3 separate regions of the Homo sapiens genome follow, and regions 2 and 3 are each linked to region 1. The links are contacts of gene promoters, found by promoter capture Hi-C in blood cells and fetal thymus (Javierre and others, 2016). All regions are on one chromosome and are shown on one strand. Each heading gives the region's core, a stretch centred on a gene start or on the middle of the fragment in contact. The rest is flanking DNA. Distances are from core to core; before and after follow the strand shown. Region 1 holds the start of RAB27B (RAB27B, member RAS oncogene family). Region 2 has its middle 84 kb from the start of DYNAP. Region 3 has its middle 100 kb from the start of DYNAP.

Region 1 (4,110 bases), core at 454-2,953:
CAGATTTACTGCGACTTTCTCAACCTCAGTTACCTCATTCTGAAAATGGAGACAATAAATATAATAGACGCCTTGCCTATTTCACAGTAATGTTGTGAAAGCCAAATGAGATGAAACTCTATTGCATACAGGAAATAATAGCTATTAGGACTAATGTCAGTAGTGAACACATGAACTAGATAAAGAATATGGGTTATCATTGTATAGCACAGAGGGTGATTTTAAGTCAATGTGTTAACAGTGGAAAAGATTCAAGGCTCTTATGTTCTTTCTTTTATTTCTGTCTGGGCCCATGGACACACACTTCTTATATACTTAGATATTGCTGTTAAATGCAAAGTAGATTTATCATAAATATAGATTCCAAGCATACATACTTTGAAAATCTACAGGCTGAGCCTCAAAGACTTTTATGCAGTAGATCCAAAATAATTTTTAGGAACTGGATCTTACTTGGGGAGAATGGAATAGATTGTTACCAAAATTATAAGTATAGCCAACACATTCATAGAACTTACTGTGCCAGGCACGTTCTACACACATTACTGATATGAAGTCAATTCTTCACAATAACACTATGAAGACATTATTATTACTCTTCTTTTCAACTTTCAAGAACATTGAAGGACATAAAATAGAACTTCTTTAATAGTTTCATAATAGAATAGACAGATTTCTATGAGACCAAAATGTTTTCTCTAATATTCCATTTTTCCACTAGTTTGCTATTGTTTGTTTTGTGTTTTGGTTTGGGCTATTCCTTTGCTCCCTTCTACAAGAAATTCTCTGGGAGCTGATAACAGCAGTGCCTCCCAGATTGTCTCTAGGGCATCGAATAAGAAACAAGTTAAGTAATTAAAATTCAAGCAGTCATTGGCATCTCGTTGTTTACTAACATGAATGCAAGACACAGGTTTGGAACTTTTAAATTTTGTTCACAGAGGAGTAAATCGGTTGTTATTATAATGTACCTAACCTTGTATTCTTACCTTTACTACCAGTCTGTAAATTAGGGATGTCTGAATGTGTCTAAAATGGAATCCCAAGATGGGCAGCCAGGATCTTTGCTTTGTGGACGAATCTAATGTGTTTAGAACACGGCATAGCACATAGTAGGTGCTTAACAAATACTGGTTCAATGCCTCCGTGTGCTCATTATCTTACTTAGTGGTAACCTATTGATCTCTGAAGTGACTTTAGGAAGTGAATTAGGGCTTTGGGAAGTGAATTTGGATGTTGCATACTGATTAATGCATTCATACGAACACATCCTAACTTTTAAAATATTAATTTCTTTCCAACGCCCTCTTTTATTTCCCGAGGCCATCCTCTGCTCCCCACTCGCAATCCCTCGCCTTCACTCCTCATAGTTAATGAGACACCCCCTCGGAGGAGAGAACGCAATGTCAGGGCCCCAGTTCTCACAGCGCCCTGGGCTCTTTGAATGAGAGACATCAAAGAAAACACAGAACAAAAATGAATAAAAATGAGCTCGCTGGTAAGGCTAGAAGCCCCACAGTGTGGAGACTTCATCCCCGAGAGGAGTGTGTTTCTCACTGCAGCAGTTGAGTCACCAGCAAGACTTGCCTGAGGTGAGCTCCGCACATCCGCGTTGGGACTTGCAGACACGCCTTCTTCTCACACAAACCTTACCCAGCCCCGCCGCCGCGGCGGACTCCGAGGGTGGTGCCACCAGCCCTGCCACTCGCAGTCCTGACGGGCAGGGGCTGCGGACCGCCCGGCCTTGGACCCATCCGGAGCCACAGGTTGGAGGAGATAAGTAGCTGTCCCCGTGCTCATCGCCCTGTGGAGCAGATCCTGTCTCCTTGCTGACGGTGGAGCCCGGGAGTTCCAGGGCTTGGGAAGGGGAAGGAAACCTCTCTGAAATCTGACACCTGCTCTCCCGGCAAGGAAACTTCGCAGGCTGGTGAGTTGGGAAGGCGGGCTGCTGCTGCTGGAACGCGTTCCCACCCACCCGGGTGCTGCAGCGCCGGCCTGCGCCGTGGGAAGTGAGGCCTCTGTGTGTGTGTGTGTGCATGTGTGAGTGCGTGTGCACCTTCGATCGCGGTTTCCAGCAGAAATCCTTGCAAAGAAGACAGTAGTGCTGTGTGCTGCACGGATGGCATGGGCCAACTCGACCTGGCTCTCCTTGAGTGTTTGCTTATCAAACAGCTGGTTACCACCAAAAAAAGCAAAAAGAAAAACAAAAAGCCTAGGCACAGCAATGCCAATTTCCTTTCATTTGCATCTCAAAAAACAATCAAAATAATGAATAAGAAAAAGCATGGATGATGATGTGCTCAGAGTTTCATTCCAGGAGGAGCGACTTAGTGAGGCAAGCCAGGAGAGCAATAAGACATTTATATGCACTTCCTTAGATGAAATAGCCACAGAGACCTTAAGAGTACTTTCTGTTTTCCAATTTTTTGCTCTGTTACTTTCGAATTCTGATCTAAGTGTTGCACCAACTAGGGTATATGTGTGCATGTGTGTTCACCCAACTGATCACAATAAATTAGCTTTCAAGACTTTCCCACCCAATGCAACATTAATTAAGCCTCTGAAAACTACTGAAGTAGGTGAACTGTAAGCAGAGACTGCATTCCTAGGAAAAAGCTGTGTTTGGTTAGAGCCTTCACACCTGTATCATGTTTTGTGAGTTTTTTATGTCAAGATGTAAAGCTAAGGGTATGTAATTCCAGTTGTTTTAAACTGCACATCATTAAATTAAGCCCAAAGTAATAACATAAATTTCAAGGTTATTAACAACAAAATTATTGTTTAATATAATACAGCTCTGAATTTTGATTTTGTTCTGTTTATAAGAAAAATGTCTACAGTTCTCAATATTTAGTTATATTCACACATATTCATTCATATATAGAATATACAGGGTTTTATGGTTATAAATTTTGAAAAGTTGAGGGAAAGGATAGACTTAAGCATTAATATAAACTCAGATATTTAAGTTTAATGAATTTTCAAGCTGCTGTAAAGTCCATATTGCAGTGATGAAGAGAGAGACATACCTGTCATGTGCCATTGCCCCTCAAATAGTTATTTTTCATAGTTTCCTAGCATAATCCTCTACCCAGATGGGGTCAGCCATCCTTGAAGGCAAGAGGTGATTCCTACCAATGACCAAAAAGGGGTAATCTTGACAGATAGTTTAATATTAATGGAGCTTTTCTGTTTCAGAATTGACTATGGCCTCTCATACAGTGTTACTGTCATTGCTTTCGAAAGGAAAACAAAACATAGCAGATAAAACTGGATGAGCCTGTTCTCATAGTTGCCAAGAAGGGATAAAGGGAATCTGTTGAATGTAAGCAAACCACAGTTCCCCTTTCTCATAGGTCATTTCTGGAACAGGCATGTTTGACCCAATAGGGAAGGTAACCCTAATATAATTGATCTTCTTGGTAGAAGATCAGTTGGTATGCCAGTTTACACTACAACTGTATGTTGGTTTCAGAATTGCTGTTCATTTATTTCACTGTTTTTCTGGAAAAATGGAAGTTATCCAAATGTCCAGGTAGTTCAGAATAGAAACCTGCTCTTTTCCCACCCTCACTCCTGCAAATTTTTGGTTAGGTTTTTGGGCTCTCAGATCAGTACGGCATGAAATATAGAACAATTACTCATATAAAACTCATCTCACAATCCAGTTTCTTCAGTTGATTCATCAAGGCAGGTTGACCAATAGTTCAGCTCTTAAGCAAGTAATTGTAATGTTGAGATGCAAGGAAATGATTTCAATAAAAACAGACAGGACAAATCAGGTGTTTCCCATGAAGAATATGTCACTTTCTAAAGATGGCTGCCAAATGGGAATGATTTTTTTTTTAAATTCATTATTAGGTATATATGGGCTTAAGTATATACTATAGAAGTAGCAAGCAGCAACATCACTATGCATAATAACATACCTATTGTAAACCCCAAATATGGAGTTGATAGTATTACTCAATTTCTTTCACACCCTTTGCAATCATTATTCATGTTCTCCAAATATTAACCTCCCATTGGCACTCCTTAAATAAGACAAACTTGTCTAGATTGCCAATAAGGAGAGTAACACTCTGTTTATCAAATGGCCAAAAAAATCTT
Region 2 (4,110 bases), core at 1,205-3,704, 150 kb before region 1:
AAAAAAAAAAAAATAGCAGCACTGTGTTTTGTTTCTAGCGGTATTAATAAAAAATATCTTCTGATACATAGTTCACAAAAATATTAGCCTATCACAGGCTGCAGAAATCTTTTTCTCCTTTCCCTGAAATAGATAATATAATTCTATGCTCTATAGCAGGACTCCTCAACCCCTGACAGTTCATGGCCTGGTAGGAACTGGGCCGCACAGCAGGAGGTGAGCCACGGTTAAGCAACCAAAGCTCAGCTCTGCCTCCTGTCAGATCAGTAGTGGCATTAGAGTCTCATAGGAGTGTGAACCCTATTGTGAACTGTGCATGTGAGTGATATAGGTTGCACCCTCCTTATGAGAATCTAATGATAAATGTAATGGGCTTGAATCATCCCGAAACCATCCTACCACCCTCCCATCAGTGGAAAATTTGTCTTCTATGAAACTGGTCCCTGGTGCCAAAAAGGTTGGGGACCACTGACCTGTAGGGAATCCTGGCTTCAAAGAGATTATTTTGGGTGGCACCAAGAGCAATCCTTGTCTTTGTTCACACAGTTGCTGGGCTATCACACCAGCATACACAGAGTTTCATCCTCCCAACTAAAATGTTGGAAGCGCTTACAGATTGGCCCGTGGTTAGCCAAGGGTGAAATAGTGTTTGCTTCTTTGTGGAAAATTTCCACTTCCTAGGCTTGGCATTTGGAGGTCTAAGTCAAGAGCATTGATTTCACAGCAGTGGGCTCTTTACTTCTAAGGCTGTGTTTTACTCATGTTGGTTTGTCATTGGATGGGCTCCCAGTCTCACTTGAAAGCATTTCTGCTGAAAATAATAATAATCTTGGCAGAGCATAGACTAATATGGCTTTTAAAGATACATCTCCAATCTCTCCTACACCATGTCTTCTCTGATTCTTGCAGCCAAAAGTGGCCACTCCTTCCTCTAAATGTCCATGCAAATCTGTTCGTACTTCATATGTCATTCACCACATTCTAGTTATATTATACCACAGTATAATTACTTTTTAATATAGCATAGTGTTTAAGTCTGATTAAAAAACTTGGGCTCTGAATTCATAGATATTTGGGTTTGAATCTTTGCTCAGACACTTGCAGGTTATGTGACTTTGGACATGTTGCCTGACTTTGTCTCACCTGTAAAATGGGGATAAAGAGAGAATGTAGCCCTCAGAGTAGCTGTGGGAATTAATGAGAATTAAGCATCTAGCACAGAATAATTGCCCAATAAATATTAACTTTTATTATCTTCTCTCTAATTAACCTATAAGCTTTTTTTTTAAGAGCAAAACACATGTTTTATTCAACAGTGTACTAGTCTAGTAGCCCATGGCATAGTGTCTTACACAAAGTAAGCACTCAAAAGTAATTTTGAATGGATAAGAGAATGGCGAGGCCTCGAGATTATGAAACATGAAAAGGAGACAGGAAGAGAAGCTCATGAAGGAGCCTGTATTAGTCCATTCTCTCATTGCTGAAAGGAACTACCTGAGTCTGGGTAATTTATGAATCACTTGAACCCGGGAGGCAGAGGTTGCAGTGAACCAAGATTGTGCCATTGCAATCCAGCCTGGGTGAAAGAGTGAAACTCTGTCTCAAAAAAAAAAAGAAAAAAAAGAAAAGAAAAATAACTTGTCCAAGGTCACATTGTTATTAACAAGCAGAATTGAGCTTTGAGTGAAGTACTTGTTCTATGACACTCTCCATCCAACTAAACTTTGCCTTCCATATTTGTTGGCTTATTTTGTCCTGGGAAGGACTGTGTTTCTAGAGCACAGACTTTTCTCACCTTGTCTGAGTCCTTAACATCAGCCTAAGGGATGCTGTGTCACACAAGGCCTAACATGGTCAGTCAGATTACTCAAGGTCTAATTTGGACGGCTGCATGCTTAATCTATTCAATCCTGTGCTTAATAGGCCATTAAAAGGGCTGACAACACAGTCCCCAGAATGCCTTGGAAGATTCATTAGTCACACACAGGGGCTGCTTTTGTGCTTCACACAAACAAGGCCATCTGAGAAAGCAAAAGAGGATAACATTTTAAATCCTCTATTCCTACACTTCATTTTTTTGTTTGCTTTTACCTTTTGCTGATTTTCCCTTCGGACATAGGGAACTTTTTTCACATTCTTTAGATCCTAGGCTCTGCCCCAAATTTATCTCTGCCAGAATTCACCTAGGTATACATTCAAGGAAAGAACTAAAGTGAAATATGATGAGCAGTTTCTAAGTACTTTAACTGATATGGTGTATAACAAGTATTTTGAGAGAGATCTAAATTTAAAAAAATACACCTAGCATATTATGTTATGCTACTTCATTAAAAATTAGAGACAAAATTGAATTCCTATTTATACACGCATACTGTATCTCTCATACCAAAACTAAGACTTATAAAGATAAATATTAGTAAATGTTAATCCATGAAAGTCTTTCCATTTTCACATGGAAAAGACACAATAAACCAAAGTCAACAACAAACCGGGAAAAAAATATTTTCAACACATAGAAAAAAATTTTAAATATTGCTTACATATAATGAGTACTTACAAATTAATAAGATTTTTATAGGCACACACTAAGAAAGAGTAACAAAGGACATTGATGTGCTTGTCACAGAAGAAGTCTATGTAATGAATAAAAACAGAGGGTAAGATACTTGACCTCATAGTTAAATATATAGAAATTGAAATAAAAGTGATATATTTTTATTACTAGGTTTAGACAAATTTTCTGAAAATTAATGACTTTTTAAGAAGACATAACTATTTGGTATTTGTGACCCCACTAGAAAAGGAACATGCCTGTAAGAACACTTCCTGAAATATACACTAAAAAGTAAAGTATCAGCAGACTCTGCTACTAGCTTTGCTCATTGGATGTGGAGACATGAGCTCTCTTTCCCGCTATGTTTCTCCACCTTCCAGCTATTCCTAGAGAGTTGGCCATGAGCCTCAGTGGACACATGACCTAGGTCCTCAGGGGTTCCCAAAGGAAATTTGAGTTTTGAGGCATTTGAAAGAGGAAGAAATATCTCTTCCTCTGAATTTTTTTCCAAAGGAGATAAGTAGATATTTTAACAAAGGCATTTCAGTCAATGAAAGGTGGTGATTATGAGAGAGGTTCCAATGACAGTTCTGCCACTTATTATCTGAGTTACTCTGGGAAAGGGCCTTATTTCCTCTAAGTGTCAAATGTCCAAATGTTTTTTATACATTCTGAAAAAGTAGAGCAATCAAGAGTAATAAACCAGGTAATAAAACATACTATCAAGAACTAATAATTAAAACAGTGTGGTACTGGCAGACAGAGACCCATGCGAAAGCATATACAATCTAGAAAGAGATTCCCTCCCCTCAATATAAGAGTTCAGTAATAAAGATGGGATCTTATACCAATAAGCAAAATGTGAACTATACTTAATAAACAGCATCTCTATTTAACAGCAATCTGGGGAGGGGGGAAGCTGCATCCATACCTTATACCTTACACCAGGATAGGAGAGTTTAATTTTCTGAGTTGCCCAAAAGAAAAGATCCATAGTTACAGACACTAGGGGTTTTCTTTCTGATCATCTAATGGTAAAATCCACAGTCAACAGCCTCACCCTCTAAGCAATGTACAGAAAGCTTTTTTTTTTTTTTTTTGAGACAAAGTCTTGCTCTGTCTCCCAGGCTGGAGTGCAGTGGTCCATCTTGGCTGACTGAAACCTGCAACCTGCACCTCCCAGGTTCAAGTGATTCTCCTGCCTCACCCTCCCAAGTAACTGGGACTACTGGCATGCACCACATGCCCAACTAATTTTTTGTATTTTTAGTAGAGACAGAGTTTCACTATGTTGGCCATGCTGGTCTCAAACTCCTGACCTCAAGTGATCCACCCACCTTGGTATCCCAAAGTGCTGGGATTACAGGCATGAGCCACCGTACCTGGCCTCATACATTCTTTTAATCAAAAAATATAGGCCTGGTGTGGTGGCTCATGTCTGTAATCCCAGCACTCTGGGAGGCAGAGGCAGGCAGATCATGAGGTCAGGAGTTCGAGACCAGCCTGGCCGACATGGTGAAACCTCGACTATACTAAAAATACAAAAATTAGCCAGG
Region 3 (4,110 bases), core at 1,025-3,524, 140 kb before region 1:
TACCTTTGTTTCCTTGCTTGTTTTTAAATTATACATTGGGTCGAACATCTTTGCATATATTAAATCTTTTCCAATATTTAATCATGGTGAGGGTGATGGAATGTCTTATTCATTTACTCAACATTTATATATTAATTTACTGGAGCTTTAGTATCTGCCCAAATTAGGGATCCTTCCTTCCATACTCTGGCCAGGAATTACCATAGTTCTCTTCATCACAATGAGAAATAAATTATAGACAACAGAAGACAATAATCTCTTTTAATAATAATGGTGAAAGCATATTTAAATATTTCCCTCACTGTTTTCTGGCCTTTATCTGGATATTTCCCTCACTGTTTTCTGGCCTTTATCTAAAGGTGAGAAACTTCATGCATTTATATTATCTTGGGCTTCAGAACCAGCATACATTCTCATAAATAGGGTTCAGAGAAAGAGCAAGAATTTGCCCATTTGTCTACAACTAAATCCCTATAGGTTCAGACTGCCTTTCCAGCAACCCCAGGTGGCCTTCTATTCCATCGTTGGAGCTTATCAACCAGGACCATGACCTCCCTCAGGTGAAATTCCACCAGATCTATTATTTCACTTAGAGAAAAGGGGACAAGTCTCCTCTTAAAAAAAGAGCATTTGAGACTGAGAGGAAATTATTTGAATACAGGTGCAAAGTGGGAATATTTATGTTTGTGATGTTTGAAGACCAGTAGTCATTAGGTTTTGTGTAAAGGAATGTTATAAGCATTGGTTAGGAAAGTAGGTTCACACCATTTTTTAAAAGACCTTAGATGCCAGATTGTGACATTTAAAGTTTTAGCTCCCCAATAATGGGGAGCCACTGATGGTTAATGAGCAAAAGGAAACAACACAAAAAATGGGTACATTAAGAGGAAGTTGAAAATACATAGGGTAGATTGGAGGTTTAGGAGACTAAAGGAAAGAATAGTTAGGAGCTATTTCAATAGCAAATAAGTGGAAAAGTGTTTTTTTTTTAAAAAAGGAAGATAAATACAAGAAATATTATACATAGGAAATCAAGCAACTCAATATAATTTCTTTCCAAACCCTTAGGAGAATAATGTAACCCACTTTCTTCATTAAGACACTAAACATATTTAATCTTTTAACACTTTACAATCATAATTTAATACATTGAGTAGTAAAAAGAATTATTAAAAAAACTGACATAGAATGAATCAATTTTCCTAGTTTATTTCAGTGATTTTTAAGTACTGTTTATAGTCTTCACATTTTATTTAGTCAAAATAAAAACAGAACCAGATGATTATGTTCCCTATAGCTGAAGGCTTGGCAAATTGTCATACCGACAGGGTTGGTTTTCATATGGCTTAGATGTTTTTGAAGGATGGATAGGGTAAAATTTTACAATCTCTTTGAGCTCTATAAATCTGTGAAACTCTAAACAAAAATATCACGAAGTATTAGGAAGAAAAGAACGAAGAGAACAAGAAAAAAAACAACCTTGATTTCATTCAGTAAAGTTCATCTTTAGCATATTCCTTTTGCTAATGCAAGAAAATGAGGAAAAGGAAATTTATTTTTTAAAGAGAGAAAATAAAGAGCATTTAAAGTAAGATAGAGAATGAGCTTTCCAGTTTGTGCTGGCTAAATCCAATAACCATTTTCAATTTAACACTGAAGGCAGATTGTATCTTTTAAGTCCTGTTTTTGTATTCTGTACAGTGATGGGCATGTCTCTTTCTTTAGTTGTCAGGATAATGAATGCTAATCTGAAGATACTCTAAGCTATTATTTTTCCAATGCATTCACCTATGCCTTCTGTGTATGCCTATTCACTGTAGTTATCAGTCTTATAGTCAAGTGATGATGGATTTCATTTATAAATGTTGAAGTGGAATTAAGCTTTATAATGTTAGCTGGGAGTGATAAATCTCCTCCTGGTAATATCATGTCGTAAGAAAGCACTGACTTTCCTGATGAAATTTTATAGATGGTTAATGTTCTCATTTTCTGGTGTTTTTACCATTTTACTACATCTGACATTTTACTAATCTTTTATATTTGTATTGCTTTTCAAAGATTAGATAAGACAAAACATCATAGAACATCTTTGTCACCTTGGAGTCGACAGGTTTCTTAATCAGGGCACCAAAAGCATTAAGCATGAAAGAAAAAAAGATAAATGAATTACATTAAAATAAAAAAACTTCTCCAAACAATATCTTTAAAAAGTTAGGAAAAGCAACCCAAAAAATGAAAGCAGATTTTTATATATATATATATATGTTGATATGTTTATATATTGCTTATAATATATAGGTATATATAATATATAATATATATGTGTATGTATATATATATTTGAAAAAATATAAATAAAAACAAAAAACCCTGATAGAAACATGGACAAAAGACTTGAACAGATACTCCATAAAAGAGGATATTTAAATGTCCTTTAAATCTGTAAAAAGGTGCTCAACTTTATTAGTTATTTTTTTTAAATGCAAGCTAAACCACAGGATGCCATCAAGTAACCACCAAAACGGGCAAAGGAAAAAGGCAGATAATACCGAGTGTCAGCAAGAATGTAGAGTAAACTGAACTCCATCCACCACAAGTAGAAGTGGAAATTGACAAAAACCACTTTTGAAACATGCTTGGCAACATCTTTCTCAAGAAGAATACATGAAAAGCTTGTAGCCAGTAGGTCCACTTCTGGGTGTTTCCCTAGCAGAAACGTATACCTATGTTCACTCACCAAAAGACGTAGAAGAGTGATCAGTGCAGCTCTACCCAAATGACCATCAACAATAGAGTGGACAATACATTCTGGTATGCACATCTAGTAGAAAGCAATGAGACTGAAAAATCTGAAACTGCAATAATAGTGACTCAAAATCATAATATTGAGCAAAGGAGCCAGGTACAAAAAAATTACAGTATATGATTCCTTTTATATAAAATAACAACATAGGCAAAAATAATATTAGTTGTAGGTGTCAGGATAATGATTACCTCCCGTAGTGGGGAGGGGTGGAGAGTGTTTCTCTTTGGAAGGAAACAGGAGAAACCTTCTGGAGTGTCACTAGGGTGCCACAAATAAAGTATGAGAGTGAGTATCCCCATTCTCTTGTTACTTAAAAACATAATTAATCTCACTCTCTTGTTACTTAAAAATGTAATTAATCTTTTGAATTTTGGACAGTGTGATACACAAAACATGATTTTAGTTCATTTCAGTTAGAATGGCCCAGATTTATAATGAGGTTGAGCATCTTTTAATTTATCTTATTACCTCCTCTTTTGAAAATTTGCTGTTCATGTAATTTGACCATTTTTCTATTAGGTGACCTGTTTTTACTTTCTTTAATTTGATACTGTTCTGTATTAATTATGGAGGTCAATCTTTGCTCTGATTTATAGTTTTCATTTAAATTTGTATGTATTTAAAATTTTTATTTATCAATCTTACAGTTTCTGTGTTTAGTGTATTGCTTAGAAAAACTCTTTAGATTATAAAGATAATCCATTATAGTTTCTTTGTATTCATTTCTAGGTTTTTATTTACTTAATCTATTTGGATTTATTTTTGTGCCTGGTATGACATAGATATCTGATATCTTTTCCCTAAATGGATAGCCAATTGTACCCACACTATTCCTTAGTCTGTCATTTTTCTACTGATTTTAAATTCTACCTTTGTCATAAATAATATTTCCATATTATGTTTTCATATATATCTTTCTTTTCATGCTGAGTTGTTCCACTGTGAAATTTGTAGATTATGCATCAATGCCACACTTTTACAAGTTATTCTAGTTTTATGGTGTGGTTTGATATTTAATAGAGAATTAGCAAGGGAAAGCTAATTATTCTTTTCCAAATCAGCTTTTAATTCTCATAAAAATACTTTTGGTAATGTCATATTCATTGGCCTTATGTTTATAGATGAATTTAGTGAAACTTATCCCTATAATGTTAAATTCTTTCAATACAGGAAGTTAGTCTCTCTCTATTTCTCTCTCACTGTCTGTTTTAATTGGGTCTTCTTTTATGTCCTTTAATAAAGATCAATACTTTTCTTCATGAATTTCTTCATGTAATTCTTCTCATTTCTTCATGCTCATTTCT

Evidence for each region. The method cuts DNA at HindIII sites, captures the fragments that hold promoters and counts their contacts. A CHiCAGO score of 5 or more calls a contact.
Region 2: a contact is called between a fragment that was not itself captured here and the fragment with the promoter of RAB27B in region 1, in 1 of 17 cell types (megakaryocytes). The highest score is 7.2, in megakaryocytes.
Region 3: a contact is called between a fragment that was not itself captured here and the fragment with the promoter of RAB27B in region 1, in 1 of 17 cell types (megakaryocytes). The highest score is 12.0, in megakaryocytes.

What each region holds. Positions count from the first base shown.
Region 1 is chr18:54,826,774-54,830,883 of GRCh38, forward strand. RAB27B (RAB27B, member RAS oncogene family) reads left to right here and starts at 1,704. Exons shown (of 6, transcript NM_004163.4): 1 at 1,704-1,927. The HindIII fragment of the contact is 8,053 bases long and covers 1-4,110 here.
Region 2 is chr18:54,673,381-54,677,490 of GRCh38, forward strand. No RefSeq gene overlaps it. Among named protein-coding and RNA genes, the nearest start is that of DYNAP, 84 kb to the left of the region's middle. The HindIII fragment of the contact is 2,359 bases long and covers 1,276-3,634 here.
Region 3 is chr18:54,690,928-54,695,037 of GRCh38, forward strand. No RefSeq gene overlaps it. Among named protein-coding and RNA genes, the nearest start is that of DYNAP, 100 kb to the left of the region's middle. The HindIII fragment of the contact is 791 bases long and covers 1,880-2,670 here.